Regions from separate parts of the Homo sapiens genome. Here region 2 is linked to region 1. The links are contacts of gene promoters, found by promoter capture Hi-C in human tissues and cell types (Jung and others, 2019). All regions are on one chromosome and are shown on one strand. Each heading gives the region's core, a stretch centred on a gene start or on the middle of the fragment in contact. The rest is flanking DNA. Distances are from core to core; before and after follow the strand shown.

Region 1 (4,557 bases), core at 932-3,431:
GCAGAATTCACATTCTTTTCAAACAAGATATTCACAAAAACTGACCACTCGCTGAGCCATGAAGAAAATGTCAATCTCAAAGAATGCAAATTGTACAAAACATATTCTTTGACTACAATGATATTAAACTAGAAATAATTTTATAGTAACTAGAAAATCTCTTATGTTTGGGAATTAACAATGATACATGAAGAAATTATAATGGAAAATAGATTTATATGATAGCAAAAGTACCACATTTTAAAACTCGTGGGACACAGCTAGAGTTCTGAGAAATTTATAACCTTAAATACATACTACCAGGTTGCTGCAAAAGTAACTGCGGTTGTTGCCATTAAAAGTAATGGCAATGTGGCCGGGCGCGGTGCCTCACACCTGTAATCCCAGCACTTTGGGAGGCCGAGCTTGGTGGATCACCTGAGGTCAGGAGTTTCAGACCAGCCTGGCCAACGTGGTGAAACCCCGTCTCTACTAAAAATACAAAAAAATTAGCTGGACGTGGTGGTGGGTGCCTATAATCCCAGCTACTCGGGAGGCTGAGGCAGGAGAATTGCTTGACCCTGGGAGGCAGAGGTTGCAGTGAGCCAAGGTCGTGCTATTGCATTCCAGCCTCGGCGACAACAGCAAGACTGTCTCAAAAGAAAAGAAAAAAAGTAATGGCAGTCTAAAAATAAACTAAGCATCCATTTCAAGAAACTAGAAAAAAACCCAAGTATTTTTGAAAAGATTAATAAAATCAATACTGGTGATGGGTACAGTGACCTGTAAAAATAAATGAAAATAATTTTTAAAAAATCAATACTGGTGAGCCTGATGAAGAAAGGAGAGGAGACAAAATATTCAATATCAGGAATGAAAAAATGAACATCACAGATCTTGCATATATGGAAGTGATCATATTATGAACAACTTTATATCAATACATTTGAAATTTTAGGAAATGGATAAGTTTCTAGAAAAAATGTAACAAAATGACAGGAGAAATTAGAAATATAAATAGCCCCGGGCCGAGCGCGGTGGCTCATGCCTGCAATCCCAGCACTTTGGAAGGCCAAGGCGGATGGATCACCTGAGGTCAGGAGTTCAAGACCAGCCTGGCAAACATGGTGATACCCTGTCTGTACTAAAAATACAAAAATTAGCCGGGCTACTGCAGAAATCTAGATGAAGGATGGTGGCTTGGATTAGGATGAGAGGTGAACACAGGAAAAAGTAGTAGGTAAAGCCAACAGAGTATCCTGACAGTTGGATATGTGGTGTAAGGGAACCAGAGTAGAAAAAGGATCACTTCAACTGGAAGATGTTGCCACCAAAAGATAGTTTTCAACCTACTTTCTTATACCTTATGTTCCAAACATCTTCTATTTTTCAAATTATTAAGCACTTTTGTAGCTGATATATAAAATACCGAAATACCAGCCTCAAGCAGTTTAGTTTCCAAATCTTCAGGATAAGAGCTATCTACGTTAACTCCACCTAGGAGAAGAGGATGAGTGTGTAACTCAGGACTGGCCCATGGGCTACGGTAACATCTATACCTCTGTACCTTCTCCACCAGGATCCGGTCTGTCTCTTGCACGCTGGTATCAGGCACTTGCTTGTCCAAGTAACCGACTGGGTAGAGCGAGTCTCCCTGGCCACTGCCCCGGTCACTTCGACCCCTAAAAAACCAAACCAAGAAACTAAAGCTGCAACCTCCGATACTTCTTATCCCACATTTCCTGATCTACCAATCATAGGAATAAAGATCTTCAGATGCACCTACTCAGATTAGACCAAGCCCCCTCGTATGTTCCTCAGTCCTTTGACTTATCAGGAGGACTGATGTAAGCATTGTTTGAGCAGAGAAACTTCCACGGCAGAAAAGCCGCTACCTCCCCAGGTGATGTCTGTGTGCCACCCATCTTTTTCAGAGTTATGCCTGAGGGCTCAGGTCTCATTACTCTGGTGCAGTTCTGGGATGAACAGTGATGTACAGCTTGCCCAGGTGCCTCACCTGCTGCCTCCTCCAGGCCCGCTTAGCTCAATGGCCCACTTGAAGCGCCGGCCTCGGTTAGCCACCAGGCCCCCCTGGGCCGTCATGGCAACAGCTGCGTCCTATAGCCTCGATGCTTCTCAGTCCAAAGCGTACTCCACAACAGGCCCACCAGCGTTCTCCGCTTTGTCTCACTCTGCAAATGCACTTCCGGCGCGTGAATACGACGTCATTTCCGCCCTGGAAATTGGTGGTGCTGTGGGTTGAGGAGTCCGGGTTTGGATTTAGAAAAGCAGGGAGGAAAAAAAACCAGGCAAGACTTAGTGCTTCCTAAAGCCACTTCCGCGCGCTCCCCTTTTGAATGTCCTTGTTATGTGTTCCCTGACCTCTGAGGTGCACTTTATGGGGCTGAAGGAAAGCCCATACTGACTCAGCGTTAAGAATTGGTGGGCGGATCACCTGAAGTCAGGAGTTCGAGACCAGCCTGGCTAACATGGTGAAACCCCGTCTCTACTAAAAATACAAAATATTAGCCGGGCTTAGTGGCGGGCGCCTGTAATCCCAGCTACTTAGGAGGCTGAGGCAGGAGAATCGCTTGGATCCGGGAGCCGGAGGTTGCAGTGAACTGAGACCGAGCGATTGCACGCCAGCCTGGGCAGCAAGAGCGAAACTCTGTCTCAAAAAAAAAAAAAAGGAAGCCAAGAAAAGCTTCTTAACCTCCTACGCGCTCCCTGGAACAAAAGATTCAAATCCTGGGTTTAAATCCTAGCTTGACCTTGAGCGAGTTACTTAGTAGTTTCTGAGTATTGAATGTCCACTGTGTCATGTGTTTATTTCATTTCACTTGCACAGTAACCTTGCGAGGTAAACAGTTCTAACCACATTCTGCACAAAGGCAAGGCAGCATTGTGGGCATGGAAGGGGACATGGGCTCGGTATTCAGTTAGCCTGCGTTTGTTGTTGTTTGTTTTGGGTTTGTTTTTTGAGACAGGGTTTCACTCCGTTGCCGAGGCTGTAGTGCAGTGGCGCTATCACGGCTCACTGCAGCCTCGACTTCCCCGGCTCAAGCGATCTTCCCACCTGAGCGTTCCTTCCAACCTGAGCGTTCCGAGGAGCTAGGACCACAGGGCGCGCCACCACGCCCCAGTCTTGTTTTGTTTTGTTTTGTTTTGTTTTGACAGGGTTTCGCTATGTTGCTCAGGCTGCTCTCAAACTCTTGGGTTCAAGTGATTCTCCTGCCTTGGCCTCCCAAAATGTTGAGATTACAAAGGCATGGGCCACTGCACCCAGCAGATGGCCTCCTTTTGAATCCTGGTTTCACCACTTAATAATTGTATGACCTTGGGCAAGTTGAATTTGTTTCAGCCTCTTCATGTAAAAGTTGGATAATCTACCTACTTTCAAGGCTTGTGAGATTAGTGCCCACCACATATCTGGTGTTTGGTTTGTTTGTGTTTTTGTTCGAGACGGAGTTTTGCTTTTGTTGCCCAGGCTGGAGTGCAATGGCACTATCTCGGCTCACTGCAACCTCCGTCTCCCGGGTTCAAGCAATTCTCCTGCCTCAGCCTCCCGAGTACCAGGGATTACAGGCGCACGCCACCACGTCCAGCTAATTTTGTATTTTTAGTAGAGATGGGATTTCACCGTGTTGGTCAGGCTGGTTTCGAACTCCCGACCTCAGGTGATCTGCCTGCCTCGGCCTCCCAAAGTGCTAGGTTATGTGGTGTTTTTAATGATGTATCACATCATTACCAAATAACACCATTGATGTGTTTTTAATGACGTGTCATTAAATAATGTATGTCATTCTTTAAAGTGATTGGGTTTTGTATGGTATACCTTTTTCATAATATAGCCTATTATTGGACATTTAAATTGTTTCCTGTTTTCCTTCCTTTTATAACCAGTGTTGCTGTGAACATATCTGTATGTCTTTTCTTATTTCCTAAAGTTATAGTCCTAGAAGTGAAATTGGAGTTGCTGGATCAAAGAGTATGCACATTTTTAAAGAATTTTCATTTTAAATGCCCACAGGAGCCAGGCGTGGTGGCTCACACCTGTCATCCCAGAACTTTGGGAGGCTGAGGCAGGAGGATTGCTTTAGCTCAGAAGTTCAAGACCAGCCTAGGCAACATAGTGAGACCTTGCCTCTGCAAACAACAACAAAAAAAATTAAAATGTCCACTAGGAAAAATGGCACCATTTACATTTCACAGTCTATAATTTTTTTAATAGTTTGAAATGGTACTGTATTATTTTTTAATTTGTATTTCTTTGACTCCAAGTTATTCGATATGGCTGGAGTTAGGGGGAAGGAGATGCTGTGGGAGGTAAGGTTGAAAAAGGCTTCCTTGGCCAACAAAAAAGTTGGGACTCTTGAAGATGATGATGATGTAAGAGAGGCTGAAGATTGCCACCTCCACTTTATTTTCTGATTTTAAAAATATGTGTTCATAGCAGACTACTTAAACAAGGCAGAAATGGAAGTCTTTTGCCTCTCCAATCCATCCTAAAATGTGTATCTATCTGATTGTAGGAAGACCTAACTATAGATTGTGTTTCTGCTCCTTTCTACTTTTTGT
Region 2 (4,557 bases), core at 699-3,198, 55 kb after region 1:
TAATCCTTTGGGTATATACCCAGTAATGGGATCACTGGGCCAAATGGTATTTCTAGTTCTAGATCCTTGAGGAATCACCACACTGTCTTCCACAATGGTTGAACCAATTTACATTCCCACCAACAGTGTAAAAGTGTTCTTGTTTCTCCACATCCTCTCCAGCATCTGTTGTTGCCTGACTTTTTAATGATCACCATTCTAACTGGCATGAGACGGTATCTCATTGTGGTTTTGATTTGCATTTCTCTGATGACCAGTGATGATGAGCATTTTTTCATATGTCTGTTGGCTGCATAAATGTCTTCTTTTGAGATGTGTCTGTTCATATCCTTTGCCCACGTTTTGATTGGGTTGTTTGTTTTTTTCTTGACAATTTGTTTAAGTTCTTTGTAGATTTTGGATATTAGCCCTTTGTCAGATGGGTAGATTGCAAAAATTTTCTCCCGTTCTATAGGCTGCCTGTTCACTCTGATGGTAGTTTCTTTTGCTGTGCAGAAGCTCTTTAGTTTAATTAGATCCCATTTGTCTATTTTGGCTTTTGTTGCCATTGCTTTTGGTGTTTTAGTCATGAAGTCCTTGCCGATGTCTGTGTCCTGAATGGTATTGTCTAGGTTTTCTTCTAGGGTTTTTATGATTTGGCATCTAAGATTTAAGTCTTTAATCCATCTTGAATTAATTGTTGTATAAGGTGTAAGGAAGGGATCCAGTTTCAGCTTTCTACATATGGCTAGCCAGTTTTCCCAGCACCGTTTATGAAATAGGGAATCCTTTCCCCATTGCTTGTTGTCAGGTTTGTCAAAGATCAGATGGTTGTAGATGTGTGGTGTTATTTCTGAGGTCTCTGTTCTGTTCCATTGGTCTATATATCTGTTTTGGTACCAGTACCATGCTGTTTTCGTTACTGTAGCCTTGTAGTATAGTTTGAAGTCAGGTAGCATGATGCCTCCAGCTTTGTTCTTTTTGCTTAGGATTGTCTTGGCAATGCAGGCTCTTTTTTGGTTCCATATGAACTTTAAAGTAGTTTTTTCCAATTCTTCCAAGAAAGTCATTGGTAGCTTGATGGGGATGACGTTGAATCTATAAATTACCTTGGGCAGTATGGCCATTTTCACGATATTGATTCTTCCTATCCATGAGCATGGAATGTTCTTCCATTTGTTTGTGTCCTCTTTCATTTCATTGAGCAGTGGTTTGTAGTTCTCCTTGAAGAGGTCCTTCACATCCCTTGTAAGTTGGATTCCTAGGTATTTTATTCTCTTTGTAGCAATTGTGAATGGGAGTTCACTCATGATTTGGCTCTGTTTGTCTGTTATTGGTATATAGGAATGCTTTTGATTTTTGCACATTGATTTTGTGTCCTGAGACTTTGCTGAAGTTGCCTATCAGCTTAAGGAGATTTTGGGCTGAGATGATGGGGTTTTCTAAATATACAATCATGTCATCTGCAAACAGGGACAATTTGACTTCCTCTTTTCCTAATTGAATACCCTTTATTTCTTTCTCTTGCCTGATTGCCCTGGCCAGAACTTCCAACACTGTGTTGAATAGGAGTGGTGAGAGAGGGCATCCGTGTCTTGTGCCAGTTTTCAAAGGGAATGCTTCCAGTTTTTGCCCATTCAGTATGAGATTGGCTGTGGGATTGTCATAAATAGCTCTTATTATTTTGAGATATGATTCTTCAGTACCTAGTTTATTGAGAGTTTTTAGCATGAAGGGCTGTTGAATGTTGTCAAAGGCCTTTTCTGCATCTATTGAGATAATCATGTGGTTTTTGTTGTTGGTTCTGTTTATGCGATGGATTACGTTTACTGATTTGCATCTGTTGAACCAGCCTTGCATCCCAGGGATGAAGCCGACTTGATCGTGGTGGATAAGGTTTTGATGTGCTGCTGGATTCGGTTTGCCAGTATTTTATTGAAGATTTTCGCATCAGTGTTCATCAGGGATATTGGTCTAAAATTCTCTTTTTTTGTTGTGTCTCTGCCAGGCTTTGGTATCAGGATGATGCTGGCCTCATAAAATGAGTTAGGGAGGATTCCCTCTTTTTCTATTGATGGAATAGTTTCAGAAGGAATGGTACCAGCTCCTCTTTGTGCTTCTGGTAGAATTCGGCTGTGAATCTGTTTGGTCCTGGACTTTTTTTGGTTGGTAGGCTATTAATTATTGCCTCAATTTCAGAGCCTGTTATTGGTCTATTCAGCAATTGAACTTCTTCCTGGTTTAGTCTTGGGAGGGTGTACGTATCCAGGAATTTATCCATTTCTTCTAGATTTTCTAGTTTATTTACATAGAGGTGTTTATAGTATTCTCTGATGGCAGTTTGTATTTCTGGGGCATCAGTGGTGATATCCCCTTTATCAATTTTTATTGCATCTATTTGATTCTTCTCTGTTTTCTTCTTTATTAGTCTTGCTAGCAGTCTATCAATTTTGCTGATCTTTTCAAAAAACCAGCTCCTGGATTCATTGATTTTTTTTGAAGGGTTTTTGTGTCTCTATCTCCTTCAGTTCTGCTCTGATCTTAGTTATTTCTTGCCTTCTGCTACCTTTTGAATTTGTTTGCTCTTGCTTCTCTAGTTCTTTTGATTGTGATTTTAGCATGTCGATTGTAGATCTTTCCTGCTTTCTCTTGGGGGCATTTAATGCCATAAATTTCCGGCTACACACTGCTTTAAATGTGTCCCAGAGATTCTGGTTCGTTGTGTCTTTGTTCTCATTGGTTTCAAAAAACATCTTTATTTCTGCCTTCTTTCATTATTTACCCAGTAGTCATTCAGGAGCAGGTTGTTCAGTTTCCAAGTAGTTGTATGGTTTTGAGTGAGTTTCTTAATCCTGAGGTCTAATTTGATTGCACTGTGGTCTGAGAGGCAGTTTGCTGTGATTTCTGTTCTTTTACATTTCCTGAGGAGTGCTTTACTTCCAACTATGTGGTCAATTTTGGAATAAGTGCGATGTGGTGCTGAGAAGAATGTATATTCTGTTGATTTGGGGTGAAGAGTTCTGTAGATGTCTGTTAGGTCAGCTTGGTGCAGAGCTGAGTTCAAATCCTGGGCATCCTTGTTAACCTTCTGTCTCACTGATCTGTCTAATATTGACAGTGGAGTGTTGAAGTTTCCCATTGTTATTGTGTGGGAGTCTAAGTCTCTTTGTAGGTCTCCAAGGACTTGCTTTATGAATCTGGGTGGTCCTGTATTGGGTGCATATATATTTAAGATAGTTAGCTCTTCTTGTTGAATTGATTCCTTTACCATTATATAATGGTCTTCTTTGTCTCTTTTGATCTTTGTTGGCTTAAAGTCTGTTTATAAGAGACCAGGACTGCAAACCCTGCTTTTTTTTTGCTTTCCATTTACTTGGAAGATCTTCCTCCATCCCTTTATTTTGAACCTGTGTGTATCTTTGCACGTGAGATGGGTCTCCTGAATACAGCACACCGATAGGTCTTGACTCTTTATCCAATTTGCCAGTCTGTATCTTTTAATTGGGGCATTTAGCCCATTTACATTTAAGGTTAATGCTGTTATGTATGAATTTGATCCTGTCATTATGATGCTAGCTAGTTATTTCACCTGTTAATTGATGCAGTTTCTTCATAGCATCGATGGTCTTTACAATTTGGCATATTTTTGCAGTGGCTGGTACTGGTTGTTCGTAACCATGTTTAGTGCTTCCTTCAGGAGCTCTTGTAAGGCAGGCTTGGTGGTGACAAAATCTCTTGGTATTTGCTTGTCTGTAAAGGATTTTATTTCTCCTTCACTTATGAAGCTTAGTTTGGCTGGATATGAAATTCTGGGTTGAAAATTCTTTTCTTTCAGAATGTTGAATATTGGCCCCCACTCTCTTCTGGCTTGTAGGGTTTCTGCCGAGAAATGCGCTGTTAGTCTTCCCTTTGTGGGTAACCTGACCTTTCTCTCTGGCTGCCCTTAACATTTTTCCCTTCATTTCAACCTTAGTGAGTCTGACAATTAAGTGTCTTGGGGTTGCTCTTCTTGAGGAGTATCTTTGTGGTGTTCTCTGTATTTCCTGAATTTGAACGTTGGCCTGCCTTGCTAGGTTGGGGAAGTTCTACTGAATAATACCCTGAAGAGTGTTTTCTGACTGGTTGCATTCTCCCCGTCACTTTCAGGTACACAATCAAACATAGATTTGGTCTTTTCACATAGTCCCATGTTTCTTGGAGGCTTTGTTCGTTTCTTTTCACTCTTTTTTCTCTAATCTTGTCTTCTTGCTGTATTTCATTAATTTGATCTTCATTCACTTATATCCTTTCTTCCACTTGATCAAATCAGCTATTAAAGCTTGTGTATGCTTTATGAAGTTCTCGTACTGTGATTTTCAGCTCCATGATGTCATTTAAGTTCTTCTCTACACTGGTTATTCTAGTTAACCATTTGTCTAACCTTTTTTCAAGGTTTTTGGCTTCCTTGCAACAAGTGAGAACATGCTCCTTTAGCTTGGAGAAGTTTGTTATTACCGACCTTCTGAAGCCTAATTCTGTCAACCTGTCAAACTCATTCTCCATCCAGTTTTGTTCTCTTGCTGGTGAGGAGTTGTGTTC

What was found. The method cuts DNA at HindIII sites, captures the fragments that hold promoters and counts their contacts. A contact is called where the count stands out against the background at its distance.
Region 2: a fragment that was not itself captured here is called in contact with the fragment with the promoter of EMC4 in region 1 in 1 of the 25 tissues and cell types used here (stomach).

The regions. Positions count from the first base shown.
Region 1 is chr15:34,222,640-34,227,196 of GRCh38, reverse strand. It overlaps EMC4 (ER membrane protein complex subunit 4), which reads right to left and starts at 2,181. Exons shown (of 5, transcript NM_016454.4): 1 at 1,997-2,181; 2 at 1,547-1,661. The coding sequence starts at 2,082. RefSeq lists an enhancer at 1,818-1,867. The HindIII fragment of the contact is 15,250 bases long and covers 1-3,641 here.
Region 2 is chr15:34,167,048-34,171,604 of GRCh38, reverse strand. All of the region lies in intron 1 of KATNBL1 (katanin regulatory subunit B1 like 1), which reads left to right. Among named protein-coding and RNA genes, the nearest start is that of KATNBL1, 41 kb to the left of the region's middle. The HindIII fragment of the contact is 5,274 bases long and covers 1-4,557 here.